Regions from separate parts of the Homo sapiens genome. Here regions 1, 2, 3, 4 and 6 are each linked to region 5. Evidence: promoter capture Hi-C in 16 types of primary human blood cells and fetal thymus (Javierre and others, 2016). All regions are on one chromosome and are shown on one strand. Each heading gives the region's core, a stretch centred on a gene start or on the middle of the fragment in contact. The rest is flanking DNA. Distances are from core to core; before and after follow the strand shown.

The links. The method cuts DNA at HindIII sites, captures the fragments that hold promoters and counts their contacts. A CHiCAGO score of 5 or more calls a contact.
Region 1: a contact is called between a fragment that was not itself captured here and the fragment with the promoter of COL17A1 in region 5, in 8 of 17 cell types (total CD8 T cells, total CD4 T cells, fetal thymus and 5 more). The highest score is 8.4, in total CD8 T cells.
Region 2: a contact is called between a fragment that was not itself captured here and the fragment with the promoter of COL17A1 in region 5, in 6 of 17 cell types (naive CD4 T cells, activated CD4 T cells, naive B cells and 3 more). The highest score is 6.8, in naive CD4 T cells.
Region 3: the fragment with the promoter of CFAP43 here is called in contact with the fragment with the promoter of COL17A1 in region 5 in 10 of 17 cell types (endothelial precursors, activated CD4 T cells, M1 macrophages and 7 more); the score reaches 10.2 in endothelial precursors.
Region 4: a contact is called between a fragment that was not itself captured here and the fragment with the promoter of COL17A1 in region 5, in 2 of 17 cell types (naive CD8 T cells and total CD8 T cells). The highest score is 5.3, in naive CD8 T cells.
Region 6: a fragment that was not itself captured here is called in contact with the fragment with the promoter of COL17A1 in region 5 in 1 of 17 cell types (endothelial precursors); the score reaches 5.6 in endothelial precursors.

The regions. Positions count from the first base shown.
Region 1 is chr10:103,863,438-103,866,145 of GRCh38, forward strand. No RefSeq gene overlaps it. Among named protein-coding and RNA genes, the nearest start is that of SH3PXD2A, 9.2 kb to the left of the region's middle. The HindIII fragment of the contact is 3,925 bases long and covers 1-2,708 here.
Region 2 is chr10:103,902,061-103,904,760 of GRCh38, forward strand. The region is part of intron 4 of STN1 (STN1 subunit of CST complex); the gene reads right to left. Among named protein-coding and RNA genes, the nearest start is that of STN1, 15 kb to the right of the region's middle. The HindIII fragment of the contact is 1,484 bases long and covers 704-2,187 here.
Region 3 is chr10:104,231,085-104,233,784 of GRCh38, forward strand. It overlaps CFAP43 (cilia and flagella associated protein 43), which reads right to left and starts at 1,280. Exons shown (of 38, transcript NM_025145.7): 1 at 1,098-1,280. The coding sequence starts at 1,162. RefSeq lists an enhancer at 1,107-1,401. The HindIII fragment of the contact is 2,497 bases long and covers 1-1,463 here.
Region 4 is chr10:103,839,963-103,842,662 of GRCh38, forward strand. The region is part of intron 1 of SH3PXD2A (SH3 and PX domains 2A); the gene reads right to left. Among named protein-coding and RNA genes, the nearest start is that of SH3PXD2A, 14 kb to the right of the region's middle. The HindIII fragment of the contact is 269 bases long and covers 1,145-1,413 here.
Region 5 is chr10:104,084,608-104,087,307 of GRCh38, forward strand. COL17A1 (collagen type XVII alpha 1 chain) reads right to left here and starts at 1,273. Exons shown (of 56, transcript NM_000494.4): 1 at 1,116-1,273. The HindIII fragment of the contact is 1,426 bases long and covers 16-1,441 here.
Region 6 is chr10:104,247,785-104,250,484 of GRCh38, forward strand. It overlaps LOC124902497 (a long non-coding RNA gene), which reads right to left. Exons shown (of 2, transcript XR_007062284.1): 2 at 549-808. Among named protein-coding and RNA genes, the nearest start is that of GSTO1, 5.8 kb to the right of the region's middle. The HindIII fragment of the contact is 1,590 bases long and covers 546-2,135 here.

The DNA of each region.
Region 1 (2,708 bases), core at 49-2,548, 220 kb before region 5:
TCTAGATTCTGTAAGGAGAAGAGAGTGTCTCCTGATCTCCTCCCAAATTTCTGCAGCACTGATGTATATTTCACCAGTTACACAGATAGAGGTACATGTGTGGAAACTCGAGCCACCTGCTATCATACTTCCAGTTTATTTATCACAGTGATGTTTTTGCAGGCCTTGTGGATTGATACCACAGGGAACTGACCTGGCTTTGTCCAGTTCTGATGAGTAGTGCTCCAGAAGAAATACAGGGAGCCTCAGGAACACAGAGCAGAGGCCCATCCTAGGCCGAGGGCAGGAAAGACTCCCAGTAGACACTGACCAGCAGCATGGAGGACCCTCTCCTCTTGTTGGATGTTAAGGGTGGGATGAAAGTCCCAACCCTCTAATCCTGCCTTGGTCTTTCCAGTGACCAGCCCCCATCCTGAAGCTACCCAGAGTTACTAGCCACCAGTCAACTCATTTGCATACAAAAGGACACATCACTTTGAAGATACCAAATATTTTAGGAGTTTTATGTCAAGAACAGAGGACTAAGGCCAAATATATTTCACAATATCACAAATGTTATATTCACACAACAGAACACTATATACCCATGACAAAGACAAAACTACTGCTTCATGCAACACACTGGATGAGGCTCACAGACACAATATTGTACCAAAAATAAAAGACACACTCAAAGGGTACATATGTGTGATTCCACTTATATAAAGTTCAAGACAGACAAAATTAATTGATGGTGCTGGAGGTCAGGACAGTGGTTGCCTCTGAGAGGTATGAGCTAGGAGGGGCACAGAGACTACGGGGTGCTGGAAATGGTCTCCACCTTGATCTGGGTGGAGGTTTTGAGTCGGGCACTGGAGTTGTGTATTCAATGTACAGATGTGATACCTCAATAAAAAAGAAAAGAATGAATGAAATAAAACTAAACAAATCAGCAATCACCTCTTAGATTCTGGTGAGTAAAAACAATGCAAGTTGCAGAAAGACATGGACAGTATACCATTTATGTAAATGTTAAACATAAAGAACAATACTATACATAATATACATATTTTAGGGATACATACATCTGTGGTAAAAGTATTAAGATGAACACGAAAAGCTGGCATGGTGGTGAGCACCTGTAATTCCAGCTACTCAGCATTGCTTGAGTTCTGGAATTCGAGACCAGCCTGGGCAATATAGTGAGATCCTGTTTCAAAAAATGAAATAAAATAGGCCAGGCACGGTGGCTCATGCCTGTAATCCTAGCACTTTGGGAGGCCAAGGCGGGTAGATTATGAGGTCAGGAGTTCGAGACCATCCTGGCCAACATGGTGAAATCCCGTCTCTACGAAAAATACAAAAATTAGCTGGGCATGGTGGCACGCACCTGTAACACATACTGGACTAATCAGACACCCTCCTTGGGACTTTTCTAACCGGTGCTGTGGGAAGAGAACCTCTTTCCTCTCAGAGCTGTGAAGCTATCAGCCCAGAGCTGACCCCAGCCATCTCTCTGACAACACAGAGGATAATGTTCACAGTGAGAGAGGATACAGCCAAATCTCAGAGGCAGGAAGAGAGAGAAACAAGAGCATCTTCCCAGCATTTGGATTCCTAGGGCCAATTGACCCTAAACCAGTGCCACTCTGTCCCTCCCCACTGTTTCATTAGGTATTCTCTCTTATACCTTACCACCTTGGCATAAGCTGGAGTAAGATCTTTATCATTTATAACCAAAGACTACTACAGGTGTTTAACTCCAGGGCAGAAGGTTGGAATGGGAGTGAGGATGTGAAGCAGGAGATTCACTTTTCAGATAGTATGTTTTTCAGTTCTAGGATTTCCATATAGTTTTTTACAGTTTCCTGATCTCTTCTAAATTTCCCATCTCTTTACCCAGTATATGCATCTTTTCCAAAGACTCTTTAACACATTTATCAAAGGTATTTTAAAGCCCTTCTCTGCCAGTCTGACATCAGAGTTGTCTGTGAGTCTGTTTCTATTGACTAGTATATCTCTTGATTATGGGTCACATTTCTCTCTTTCTTCACATATCTAATAATTTTTATATAGTGAACATTGTAAATGGTATATTGTAGAGACTGGATTCTGTTATCTTCCTCTGGGATTCTAATATACACTAAAGTTCAAGAATGGCTGCCCTTAGGGGAAAGTCATACAAGTGTGGACCTCACCCGGAGTGTCTTCCTTCTTTCAAGGAACAAGTCCCCTTCCTTTAGTCTGGTCGTCATCCAGTGGCATCAAACAGGTTTTTATTTTCACCTTGTCCAGAGTTTGTAATTATGATCTGTAGGAGGGGTTAGCCTTCTACAAATCACTCTACTCTGTTAGACCAAAATTTGGATATTCACATTTTAGTTCAAATACTATATTAAATATGGTTTGATGTTGTTTGCATTCTTTGTCATTTAAAAATAAATTTAAAATGTTTTTAGTTGTACTGGGCATGGTGGCACACATCTGTAGTCCCTGGCTACTTGGGAGGTTGGGGTAGGAGGATTGCTTGAGCCCCAGAGTTCAAGGCTATAGTGTGCTATGTTAGTGCTTGTGAATAGCCGCTGCATTCCAGCCTGGGCAACACAGCAAGACACATATATTTAATTGCTATTTGAATAAAATGTTTGTGAAATCCTGGAAGCACCTTACAGGTTTATGAGACACAGCTTGAAAATCTCTAGTATAAACCATATGATTGACCATTATGG
Region 2 (2,700 bases), core at 196-2,695, 180 kb before region 5:
CAACCTAATATAATTTTGACAACTGTGGCTCTGTAATGTACAGAGGCATTAATTTTCCTTGAACACACCTACTATACCCAGGGAAACAGCAACATAGGGAGCACAGAGAACTCTGTGCATTCAGTGAGTCCAGGTAGGAACCTGGACGCAATCAGCATTACCGCTGCTCAGAGCTTACTGGGTTTCTTCAAAAAATCCCCAACTGCTACTTTTTCAAAAGTAGCAGTTCCTATCCCCAGGCCCTCTTCTACTTAGGCTGAATTTTAAAGGTATTTATAAATCTCATTGTCATTATGCAGACATTATAGGTGATAATAAATGCTTCACATAGCACCACTGAAATGATCAGACTGATGGTTGGTCTGAGAAAAAGAGGCCCACCTTTCACTTAAAGGGTGAGCCAAGTTGCCAAAAGGAGGCTCAAGCTGTGTAATTAAATGAATATAATGAGAAGACTGGAGCCTGACAGAACTTCACTTTCAGTGTCTATTCCATCATGAAAGATAAATCCCCTTTAACATTCGAATACTCAGGGCCAGGAAATCTTAACTTTGCTCATAAGCTAAGTCCAAATGGTACATTCAATGTGACATTTATGAAAGCTAATATTATATTCTTTTACTTTAACTGAGTGGAACATGATTTTGACTCAGACTAAATTTTGTTTAAAAAATTAGTCTTTGCTGGCCACCTTCCAATGGAAAGCTTTTAAACTAAGGGCAATTAAATTAAAAGGAGAGAATGGGCTAGTTGGGAACAATTTAAAGACGATGAGAATCATTTTTAGGTTTTCTCCTTCTACTCTTACCTTCTCGTTATATTTGCAAAGCAATCTTAAGGCTACCTACTGTGATTGTTCATCCATTCATCTACTTATTGATATTTTAAAAATCTGACTCTCAGTATTAATACCCATTTTGTTGATCTAAAAAATTACGAAGTATAAGAATTATATATTCCTGATGATGCTATTTCTTTAAAAAGAGTTAATTTTGAAAACTGAAACAATGACTAAAACAGGGGTCTGCAAACTATAGCCCATGGACCAAATCCATCCACAGCCTGTTTTTTAAAATAAAGTTTTATTGGAACACAGCCATGCCCATTTGCTTATGTACTACCTATGGTTACTTTCTGTTATAATGGCAGCGTTGAATAGTTGAGACACACAGACCATAGGGTGCACAAACAGAAAATATGGCCCTTTACAGAAAAACTTTGCTGACTCCCCATCTAGAACAAGTACGCATATTCAAACTACACCTTCTGACTGAAGATTGTGACAACAACCAAAAATCTGCAAATGATTTTAATACTGCTACAGTTTGACAAAAACAAGTTTCAATGTTTTTGTCCCCTCAAAATCTCATGTGTTAGAAATTTAACCCCCAATGCAACAGTGTTAGAAGATGGGGTCTAATGGGAGGTGTTTAGGTTATGAGAGCTCCACTCTCATGAATGAATTAAGGCCACTATAAAATGGGTTTGCAGAAGTGGTTCTCATTCTCACGCTCTTCTGCCATGTGAGGAACAGTTCTCCTCCCCTCTGGAGGATGAAGCATTCAAGGTGCCATCTTGGAGGGGAAACCCGGACCTCACCAGACACCAAAACTTTGATCTTGGAATTTCTGGCCTCCAGAACTATGAGAAATAAATTTCTTTCTTTATAAAATTACCCAGTCTTAGGTATTCTGTAACAGCAGCACAAAACAGATTAAGAAAAACACCTCAGACATACATAAAAATCCAGATACCTGATTGTCTCATAGGTTTATTTCTTGCCTATGAGGTATCTGCCTAAAAACACGTTGTCTCCCTTAAATCTATCTACAAACCTTCCTCACCAAAGCAATGCCATTGATTTAGATGTTCCCAAATTAGGAATTAGAATTCCAAAGTTACATGAAACTGATGGCCAAATTCTAAATGTAAATACATCAGAAAATTAAGCAAATGAGCATTCCATTGATCGGTATAGTCAAAGTACAAAGTTGAGATTCTGACACGTAATGGCAAAAAAGAAGAAACGACTCTAAGCACTAGATATTCTTACCATACATAATGCAAGTAGATAGATACTAGATGTTAGATATTAGAGCAGGCAGTGTTTACTGAATAACCCCACTGTGTATGGCACTATACTGTATATGTTGTAAAACACAGGAAAAACAAGGTTCCAGTTTTCAAAGCTTCTCTAGAACCAAAAACCATCACCAATATTGCACGATATTCTTTCATATTATGAACTTAAATTAAAAAATATCTAAAAATTAGGCCGGGTGTGGTGGCTCAAGCCTGTAATCCTAACACTTTGGGAGGCTGAGGCAGGAGGATCACTTGTGTCCAGGAGTTTGAGACCAGCCCTGGAAACATAGTGAGAACCTAACTTTAAAAAAAAAAAAAAGTATCTAAAAATTATTAAAATATATTCAAGCAACTCCAAATGTTGTTTCAGTTATAGTCAATGTATTCACTATACAATTTTAAAGTTCTTTTAATTTATATTACTTAATGGATAATTTCCAAAGGAATCCTATCTTACCTTCTCAGTCTTAGAATTCCTGGTATTATTTGTTTGAACACAGAGATTTTAGAAAATCTGGACCATGGCAGCACAGAAGTTAGTGGCAACCATGTGAGAGAAACAGTCTTCAAAATGTTCTTTGGTCAAGTGATATGGCTGGGACAAGGGGATTCAGA
Region 3 (2,700 bases), core at 30-2,529, 150 kb after region 5:
TTCAGCAAAGGAAACTCTCTGACCAAACCTGAGAAAGTCTCAGAAGGACTTCTGGGGTCTTCTATACTTGGAAGACAAAAAGTGAAAATAACAGAGAAAAGAGCTTGATCTCAACACAGTGGCATCCTGGGCCATTCTTTTATAATTAGTTTGATTTTTTTAAATAAACTTTAAAAAACAACTTTGCATAGGACAGCCTGCTTTGTGGTTGTTAGCAGAGTAGGAAAATTGCTTATTTACACAGATGAAGAGTATGTGGCCATATTTTAGATTTAAAAATACAGATAAACGTAGAAAATAAAAGGAATGAAGTCGACGTGAATGAAAGGCTAGCACACAAAAAGAACATACTCTCAAGTAAGGAGTGCGTGCTAGGTGTATGCTAGAAAGGAGAGGAGATGAAGGAGATTCTATTTTTATTTAAATATTAAAGGTATGCTTGAAGATGGTGGAAAAGGCAAGTGAAGGACACTGGTTTGGTGAGAAACCTCGAGACATTAGAGTGTCCAGGACTAGCAGGGGATGCTGTATAGAGTGGAGGTGGGGGCTGGGAGGAACACTCTAGAATGTAGGGGAAAAAATGCCACCTATATCTGCGCAGTGCTTGATGCTTTTCAAAGGCTACTATAAATGCAAATAAATCCAAAGCTAGTGGATAGGAGTTAGAAGGAAAGGATTCAGGGACCTAACTTTGGGGAAAATCACCAAAGGTAGCAAGGACGGGATCCGGGCTGTCGCCAGGTGGAGGGGGAGGGGGATGTGATCAGAAGACCCGGATCACTAGCGGGAATCCTGAGCTAGAAGGAAGAGATGAAGGGTGCAGGGGACGTTGCTGGGTAAGAGACGGAGGGTCAGGGTCGCAGAATAAGGAGTGGGAAAGACAACTGGGGACGGGGTCAAGGAACAAGGGGATGGGGAGCGGACAGGGGAGGTCACACGGGGAGGGAGGCTGAGGGAAGGCACTGGGGGCAGAGGGGAAGAGGTCGAAGCTGCGGGGAAAGCCGCCCTAAGGAACCGGAGGGAGAGGAGGGAGGAGGGGACTTGGGGCAGGAGGTTCCGCGAGACCCAGATCGGTCGCGGGGCCGTGAACACCGCACCTCACGGACAAGGACGCGCCGCCGGCGGAGTGGGGGCCTTCGTCGCGCTCCCGGCCTTGCGCCATGGGCAGTGTTTTCCTCAGGCGGGAGCAGGCAGCGCACGCAGCACCCCAGGGCGGGTCGGTTACCTTTCCGCCGCCGCGGGGCTGCGGGCCGCGACGCCGCTGCTGTGTACACCCGTATCCCGGAGACCGTAAGCCCCGCGCCCATTGGCTCTGCGCTTTGGCCCGCTCCCTTCTGAGCCGAGCAGATTGGTGGAAGGTCTGCCGCTCTCGGCCAATGGGTGAGCGGCAAGCCAAGCGAGGGGCGGGCCCCTTGCTGTTCAAAGTGTGGTCTGTTTACCAGCAACATTGGTGCTACCTGGGAAGCTTGTTATAAATGCAGAAACTTGGCTCCCACACCAGATCTACTCAATCAGAATCTGCATTTTAACAAATTTCCCCAGGTCCGGGCCAATAATTGCAAGTAAGACTCATGCCTACAATCTCCGCGCTTTCGAAGGTCAGAGCGGGAGGATCGCTTGAGGCTAGGAGTTGAAGACCAGCCTGGAAGACATAGCGAAACCTGCCGCGCCCGTGCCGCATCTCTACAAAAAAATTTAAAAAGCAGCCGGGCATGGTGGTGCACGCCTGTAGTCCCAGCTACTTGGGAGACTGAAGTGGGAGGATCGCTTGAGCCCAGGAGTTCAAGGCTGCGGTGAGCTGGGATGACGCCACAGCACTCCAGCCTGGGCGACAGAGCGAGACCTGTCTCTAAATAAATAATTATTTTTAAAAATCAATAAATTTCTAAACAGACTTTCATTTAGAGTGCTGACTGTGCCAAACATTGTTGCAACGTCTTCACATCTCCCATCAGCCCCATTTTACAGATAAGTAACGTGAGGAAAAGAGAAGCACATAATTTGTCCATGGCTACAAAGTTGAGTGGGACTTTATTTATTTATATTATTTATTTATTTATTTTTGAGATAGGGTCTCACTCCGTTGCCCAGGCTGGAGGGCAGTGGCTTGATCTTGGCTCACTGCAACCTCCATCTCCTGGGTTCAAGCGATTCTCCTGCCTCAGCCTCCCAAGTAGCTGAGATTACAGGCACGTGCTACCATGCCCAGCTAATTTTTTGTATTTTTAGTAGAGACGGGTTTTCACCATGATGACCAGGCTGGTTTCAAATTCTTGACCTCAAGTGATTCGCCCGCCTTGGCCTCCCAGAGTGCTGCGATTACAGGCGTGAGCCACCTTGCCCAGCCCTGAGTGGGACTTAAACGCAGGTCTAGCTAATTTAGAGCTCCAAGCCCTTAAGTACCATATAACACTTTGAAATGTACCCTCTTGCTTCCTCAGGGAAGCAGACAGCTCTGGAAGTAACCTGATTGAATGGTCGGCAGCTTGTCATTCCTTCTTCTCTCCCATACCTTCCCTTAGACTCCCTCCCTTACCCTTCTTCCTTTCCCTTCAGTCGTCTTCCCTTCTCTACCCTTCCCTTCCTTTCTTTAGGTCTTTCCTTCCTGTCTTGCTTTCTTCTCTCCATTTCTTTCACAAATATTTACAGAGCATCCCGCATGCATTCATGCATGTGCTAGTCACTTGGAAAAAATAGAAA
Region 4 (2,700 bases), core at 29-2,528, 240 kb before region 5:
CAGCAGGGCAGGCTCCGTAGGGCAAAGGTAAAGGGCTCCCAACGCCCAGTGCCATCAAATCAAAAAGGGCAAGGCCAGGCAAGAGCCCAGCGCTGCTGACAGACTGGCAGAGGCAGAAATGATGGCGCCAACAACAGCTGCTGTTTATTTTGGGGCCAGGGAAGAGAGGAAGGACTGGTTAGGACCCATCTCATTCCAACAATAAACTGAACAGGGCAGGGCGGGGAGGTTGCCCCGCTTCCAGCTAAAGCAACAGCCTGGCCACCTGTTGGGTTTCACTGAGTGGAATGGTCTAGGTGTCAAAAACATCTTGCCAGACACCCTAATCTAGCTTCCACCAATAAACACATCGCCACCCCGGCCCAGCCCCCTCCCCAGACCCATGTGCTGCACTTGTAAATGGCCCAGGAAGGCGGCCACATACACCAAGCCCACCCCCTGCAGTGTCAGGTTCCAGAAACAAATGGTTTTTCCTGTCTGGGAGAAGAAAGAGAAACTGCTCATACTGGCCACCCGTGGCTTTTGTTCCCTCACCCTGACACTTGTTAACACCTAATGACAAGTGTCCTGAACGTAAGGTCTACAGACAGCCACCCTGGGCTGCAGCAAGGCTGGCTGGCGGGATTCCCGGAAGGCCAGGAAACAAGAGGTTTCGCGAAGGACTCTGGAGTCCCGCTGCCTGGCTCTGAACCCGGCTCTGCCCCTTCCTAGCTTGTGACCATTGGTAAATGCATCTCATGCATCTCTCTCTGCCTCTGTTCTCTCTGAGTAATGGAAGGACCATAATAGTGCTTTTCTCATAGTCTGTTGCAAGGATTAAATGAGTGATGTGCTTAGTGGCGGGCACATCGTTCATGCTGCTGTTGTTACGGTTGTTATTGTTATGTAGCCTTAGGGTTTCCTTCTCACTGTGAACAATGGAAGACAGTTTCCCTGGATGTTACACACAGCATTTAGGCTCCCAGGTTAGCCTATGCTGTAGGTGAACTAGAGATATCTGGTTGTCAGGGATACAAATCTACTCTGAGGATGAGAAAAGTTTTGGTGGGCTGACTTGAGAATCTTAACACCATTTACGATACAATACTGATAGGAACATGTGTTTTGAGTTTCTAACAACTAACTTCAGCAACTGTAAGTTAGAAGCTTCAGTAAAAATAGGAGTATGAGGTCGGAGGGGAAGGGGCTTTAGTAGAATGAAGCCTTTGTCCAGGGATTTATCACACTGATCCAGGACGCACCATGATCCAGACCCTCTGCTAGCATGAGGAGGGGGCGTTAAAGATGAAAGGATGTGGTCGCTGCTTTTGCAGGAATTCACGCCCCTACCTGCCTCCTGGCTCCCAGCTGGAGCACTGCTTTCAACACAGCACCTTGCACACAGTAGGCACAAAAATAATGTTCAGCCAGTGAAGCTTCCTGGTGTGTACCCTGCCTTTGGGGCCCTGGAGTTCCTACCCATGACGCTGCTGATGGAGACTGTGTTTCCCCAGGAGGTCTCTTTTAAAGGGGGTCAGGGTCAAACCCCAAGCAGTCCTTGAAGCCACCTCTCTGGCAGTGTTTTGGCCAGTTTCAGTCTCCATTAGGTCATCATGAGGCCTCACTGCTGAGCAGAGCATGCTGTGCAGGGTGGGGAGGGATACAAGGCTCAACGTGACCCTTTTCCCTATCTGACCCCATGACCTGCTGCTCTCCCCTCTCTCACTCCACTCAGGCCACACCAGCCACCTCGGGGCCTTGGCACCTGTTGTTCCCTCTCCCTCAACCACTTTCCCCCAGATAGCCACAGGGCTCACTTCCTCACCTCCCTCAAGTCTTACTCAAAAGCCACCTCTACAGTGGGGCTGTCCTTGGCCACCCTCTATAAAATAGCACAGCAAGGCCGGGTGCAGTGGCTCACGCCTGTAATCCCAGCACTCTGGGAGGCCGAGACGGGTGGATCACGAGGTCAGGAGATCAAGACCATCCTGGCCAACATGGTGAAATCCTGTCTCCACTAAAAATACAAAAAAATTAGCTGGGTGTGGTGGCGGGTGCCTGTAGTCCCAGCTACTCGGGAGGCTGAGGCAGGAGAATGGCGTGAACCCGGGAGGTGGAGCTTGCAGTGAGCCGAGATCGCACCACTACACTGCAGCCTGGGCGACAGAGCGAGACTCCGTCTCAAAAAAAAAAAAAAAAAAAGCACAGCAACTCCCACCATCACCAACATGCCTGTCTCCCTCACCTGGCTTTAGTTTTCCCTACGCCATTCAACCCCCATCTCATACACTATGTTTTTGACCTATTTTGTTATTGTATTCTTATTTTTAAATGATATATAATAGTTATACAAATTTTGGGGGTACCTGTGATAATTTGATACCTGTATACAATGTGTAATAATCAAATCGGGGTCATGGGGATATCCATCACCTCAAACACTTATCTTTTATTTGTACTGGGAACATTCCAGTTCTTCTAGTTACTGTAAAATATGCAATAGATTATTGTTAACTACAATTTCCTTACTGTACTATCAAATACTAAAACGTATTATTTCTACCCAACTGTATTTTTGTATTCATTAATCAACCTCTCTTTATTCCTCCCACCTGGCCTCTGGTAGCCGCCATTCTACTCTTCACTACCTCTGTGAGATCTACTCTTTTTAGCTCTCACCTATGAGTGAGGACAGCAATATTCGTCTTTCCGTCTTTCCGC
Region 5 (2,700 bases), core at 23-2,522:
GTAAGTTTCTATGCAAGCTTGAAGCAGAGCTGTTCACTTTAATTGTTCCTGTGTAAACTCTGATCAGACTCATGTGGGTGTTTTGCAGGGCCTAAGAGTAAAGCAGGACACCTCTGAATCTCTGGAGTGAGTCTGTGTGGGGATAGACATCTGTCTTAGGTTAGTTCTGACAGATCTGTGCCTTAGCTCTAAGAGAGAACATATGGAGGTAAGAAGAAACTATTCTGCTTTTCAAATAAATACCTTTTAAAAATCTTGCTACGTTTTACAAGTCCACTATTAGACTACTGATTAACTACTTCTCAAAAGAAGGAATGTGCCAGAGGTTTTGCCTCCACTTCAAAAAGTAAAGTGATAATTTGTCAGTTACCAGTTAACGTCATCCACTTAGGTATCTAAACTGGTAATTCTCATCTCAAAGTGAATTTTTTTGGCAGGAGGAAACCCAAGTTGACTCGTAAGAGTATATATACGGGAAACAATTTTCTTCCTTTTTTTATTCCTCTAAGTTTGATCCTGCAAAATTTCTGAATTAATCAGATCATTTCAAAGATCCTACTTTTCTTTAGATTAGAGGTAATTTTACAGCATGGTAAACAGCAATGTTTACCATGTATGGCTTAATCAGAGAGGCCCAGTCAGCACAGGGACTGTTTCTAGAAGGCCCCCTTACCTATACTTTAACTTCACCCCTGAGTTGTTCTCTTCGTCCAGTGGAGAGAGAGACAGAGGGAAGAGGAGAGCAAGATAGCGAGAGAGGAAACTGAGATTGGGAGAGAAGGAATTATAAGCCCGTATCATATTCTAAATAAAACAACACAAGTCATTTTACAATGCTGAAAACAATGCAGAAAGGTCTTGCCTCTAAAGCCCGCTATATTTTAACCAGCCTTCAGCCTTCTCCTTTTCCCCACTTATTTCCTTTGAAAGACCTACCCTAAGCAGAATGCATACACCAAAGTCATCTTTTATAACCAATTGATCACTTTAACCAGAATGCTAGAAACTACAGAACTTCATCTTCTTTTCTCCAATAAACATTTAATTTCTAAATGGCAAACCTTAAATCAAAGTCTCAGAGAAAAGGAGAAAGGTCAGTCTTCCTGTTTACTTACCTGGTTTGAGGTTTTGAAGGAATTGGAAACAACTTTGAATAAATCCCCCTCTCTCTTTCTTCTCCTGATGTTTTCTTCTAGAAATTTGCAGTGCTCACTTTTTTTTTATCCAGACCCAGCCAAGGTGTGTTAAAGCTGAGTGATCTTTCAAAAATGTTCACTTTTCTTTCTCTCCACCTTGTTTCTTTCAACTCTTTGCTTCCAAACATGTCCTGACAAAGGTGTGTCATGGTTTACAGCGTTACTCCACCCTTCCAATTATCTGACACTTGCTGGATTTAAAAAAAAAATCTGCCTCCAGGAATCAAACTTTACTGGAGGCAGAAAGCTTCTCCTTCCAGCTTAGGTAGATTAACTATTTATAAGGCCCATGGGGAAAAGGAAACAAAGGACCAGCATAAAGGAAATGCTTTTTTATTGCCTACCTTCTACAGCTGGAGAACTGCCACAACTTTGTGGCAGTACCCTTCCTCAGTGCCATGGGTACTGGAATCCCACTGCATGATTCATGAGTCTAGGCACGTGGATGGGCTCATGGATGAGCATGGTCTAGGCACATGGATGGCCTGTGGTCATACTGCCTGAGCCCTAGAAAAACTGAAGTTGGCAGGATTTATATTCAAGATCTGTTTCCCCTATAGATGTCTTCGTCCTCTGTTCCTGTGTCCTGTGTCCTTTGTCTTGTTTCCCCTATAGATGTCTTTGTCCTCTTTCCCCTCTTGTGACTCAAGCCAGGTCAAGCCCATCTGGAGAAAATAGTTGGTGAACTAATTCATAATATGCTAATGACTGAATGTACTGAGCAATTGGTGGGGTAGGGGTTCGTTTTACAAAAGAGGCAACCAGATATAGTGATGCTGACCTAAAAGAGTGACATGTTAGTGATGGAATTTTAGGCATTTAGCCACCTAATAATGGAGAGAGGTGCTGTTGGGAAGGGATAAGGACCTTCTTGTCCTTCAAATCAGGTGACCGCATAGTCTCCATACACCTAAAGACATGTGTGGGCTCCCAGATGTCCTGCAACTCCAAGTACATCCTGGGGACCTTTAGATTTCCCTAGAGGGTCAACTTGCATCAATCAGGATAATTCTTATGAATACCTGGATAGCATCTGGCTTCCCAGGGGGCCTAAAGACTAGCTTGAGACACTTGGTGTTGGTAAAATGGGAAGTCTGAACCTGGAACTCACTCAGGCAGTCCTTTGAGGCCATAGCACATTCCTGGGACCCAGCATCACACTGGGATTCCCAGTTCTGAGGCATTATCCTAAGATACTGGAGGGGAGCAGTGGGGCCCTTACAGCATAGCACCGATGTGCAACTGCACCTTGCTATTGTGGGCACTGCATCCCATGGAAGGGTAGCAGACCACAACAACAGCTGTGGGGCTCTTGCTCCTAAGCTGCCCATATTCCACACTGGAGTCGTGCATTTCAGAACCCTTTCAATTATGCAGAATTTGACACTTGCTTTGTAGGATGTTCTTGCCTTCCCCAAATAAATACTCAATATGTCTTCCGTCAGTTTCATAGTAGAAGAACACTGAAGAACCCAGAACACACAGAGCTTTCAGCATAAAATAG
Region 6 (2,700 bases), core at 91-2,590, 160 kb after region 5:
GCCCTGTCTAGGCAGGATACATGGTAACAAGACTATGTTAGTTTTTTAAATTTTTTTTCTGAGTTCATAGAATACTATTGTGAGCTAATTCTCAGAAGGAAGGCTATAAATTTCCCTTAAATTGTTAATTAGCATTTATAACACACATTTGTGCTCTAGAGCAGTTCTGAGTTGGAACGTATTAGTGGTTGGTAAGATCTGCTTACTAAGTTGTAACCAACATGTCTTTAAAATGAACGGAACAAAAAAACTTCACAGTGCATCCCAATGGTAAGTGTAAATTCTGTTTTAGGGGTGTGTGTGTGTGTATGTATTTTTTATTGGACATTAAATAAAATACATTTTTTTCTTTAAAAATGTCAGTAAGTACTTTAGGGGGACTGTGAGGGAGACAAACTGTATTTAGTCAGCTCTAAGATCAACTGACAAGGAGGGAATAATTAAATAAATAACCAATTAAATTACAACAGAATCCTAAAATTTTTATTTAACGCTTATTGAAAGAGCTCTTTTAAGCCCAGATTTTTATGATAAAAGAACTCTTAAGCTTATTTAGAAATGATTTTTATTCTATTTTACTCTTGTGCAAGTATAAAAAGGAAAATATAAGTTATATAAAGTATTCATTCAACTTTTAGAATCCAGCTCTTTTGAATAATTTTTAAAATCAGCATCATAGGCATTCATTTCCCCAACTCATTCATCCCATAGCATTGTCCTCTGTGCCAAGAAGATCATTTAATTCCATAATGCAGCAAGAATGTTCTGTTATCTCTGGGATTTTCTTCCAAAGCCATTGACAGCTACCCTGCAAGTCCAAGCAAGAGCAATAACATCAGTGTCAAAACTGCTACACAGCCTGCTGTAATTTTAGATACACTTCCATTTTTAGAGGTATTTAAACATGAAGAAATGTGAATCTTAGAATCCATGAGATATGGTAGCAGTCTTAACTGCTACCTGATCTCTCGATCAGACTTAGGTGTCAGACTGATGGGTGAAGCCAGCTGGGCTTCTGGATCGGGTAGGGACTTGGAGTACTTTTCTGTCTAGCTAAATGGTTGTAAACACGCAAATCAGCACTCTGTGTCTAGCTAAAGGTTTGTAAACACACCAATGAGCACTCTGTAAAAATGCACCAATCAGCGCTCTGTGTCTAACTAAAGGTTTGTAAACGCACCAATCAGCACTCTGTTAAAAACGGACCAATCAGCACTCCGTAAAATGGACCAAACAGCACGACATGGGCGGGGCCAAATAAGGGAATAAAAGCTGGCCACCGGAGCCAGCAGGGGCAACAGGCTGGAGTCCCCTTCCGGGCTGTGGGAGCTTTGTTCTTTTGCTCTTCACAATAAATCTTACTGCTGCTCACTCTTTGGGTCTGCACTAGGTTTATGAGCTGTAACACTCACTGTGAGGGTCTGCAGCTTCATTCCTGAAGTCAGTGAGACCGTAAACCCCCGGGAGGAACAAACAACTCTGGACGCAGCACCTTTAAGAGCTATAAGACTCACTGCAAAGGTCTGCAGCTTCACTCCTGAAGTCAGCGAGACCATGAACCCACCAGAAGGAAGAAACTCCGGACACATCTGAACATCTGAAGGAACAAACTCTGGACACACGATCTTTAAGAACTGTAACACTCACTGCGAGGGTCCGCAGCTTCATTCTTGAAGTCAGCGAGACCAAGAACCCACCGGAAGGAATAAATTCCAGACACAAGACCAGAGTTGACAACCCATCTCCACCATAAAAAATATATTGATTTTGAGAAAATCACTTAACCTGTGCCCCCCAGTTTCCCTATCCCTGAGATGGTAATATTAACAGTATTTAAATCTTAGGATTGTTGTGAGGATTAAAGACTTTCCAGGTAGAACATTTAGGAGATAACTGGCAGGACATGTACATTCAACAGATGAGATTACCTCCTGCATGCTGTTTTACAACATTTTTATTTAACAGTGTATCTCTGGCATGTTTCTGCATCAGTATATATGAATCTACTTCATTACTTTTAACAGTTGTCTTTTAACAGTAGGTTTTTTTTTTCCTGTTCTTTAAAAAATGTTTCTTAAATCTTAATTTTTCCCAATATAGCGTATATTAAGAGTAAAAAATCAAAGTGAATAGAAAGCTTTTCAAATGACAGCAGTCGCCACCTCATTTCTCCCCACCTGATCCTTTCCCATCTCAATGCCATTCTCTAGAAGCCACCTTCCAACTGAAGAAACAGAAGGGAACCAATACCCTGGAAGCACCTCCCTACATCATGCACCCACCCTTTTCCATTCCCTTCCTTTCCCCTGGATGTAGCTACCATCCTGAATTCTGTGATTATTGTTCCCTGCTTTTCAATTCTACCATGTATGCATGAGCCATAACTAATGTGCTGTTTCACTTTGCCTGTTTTTAAAGTTAACACATGTAGAATCATACCATATATATTATTGTGACTTGCTATTCTGGCTCAATATCATGTTTTTGAGAGGGATTTAAGTTGATAACTATAGCTGTAGACTATTTGTTTTCATTGTTGGGTAGATGTCCATTATATGAATACAACACAATTTATCCATTCTTCTTTCAATGGACTTTTAATATCCCCTCAATTTTTTTTCTATTCAAGCTTCTTCTTTTTTTTTTTTTTTTTTGAGACAAAGTCTCACTCACTCTGTTGCCCAGGCTGGAGTGCAATGG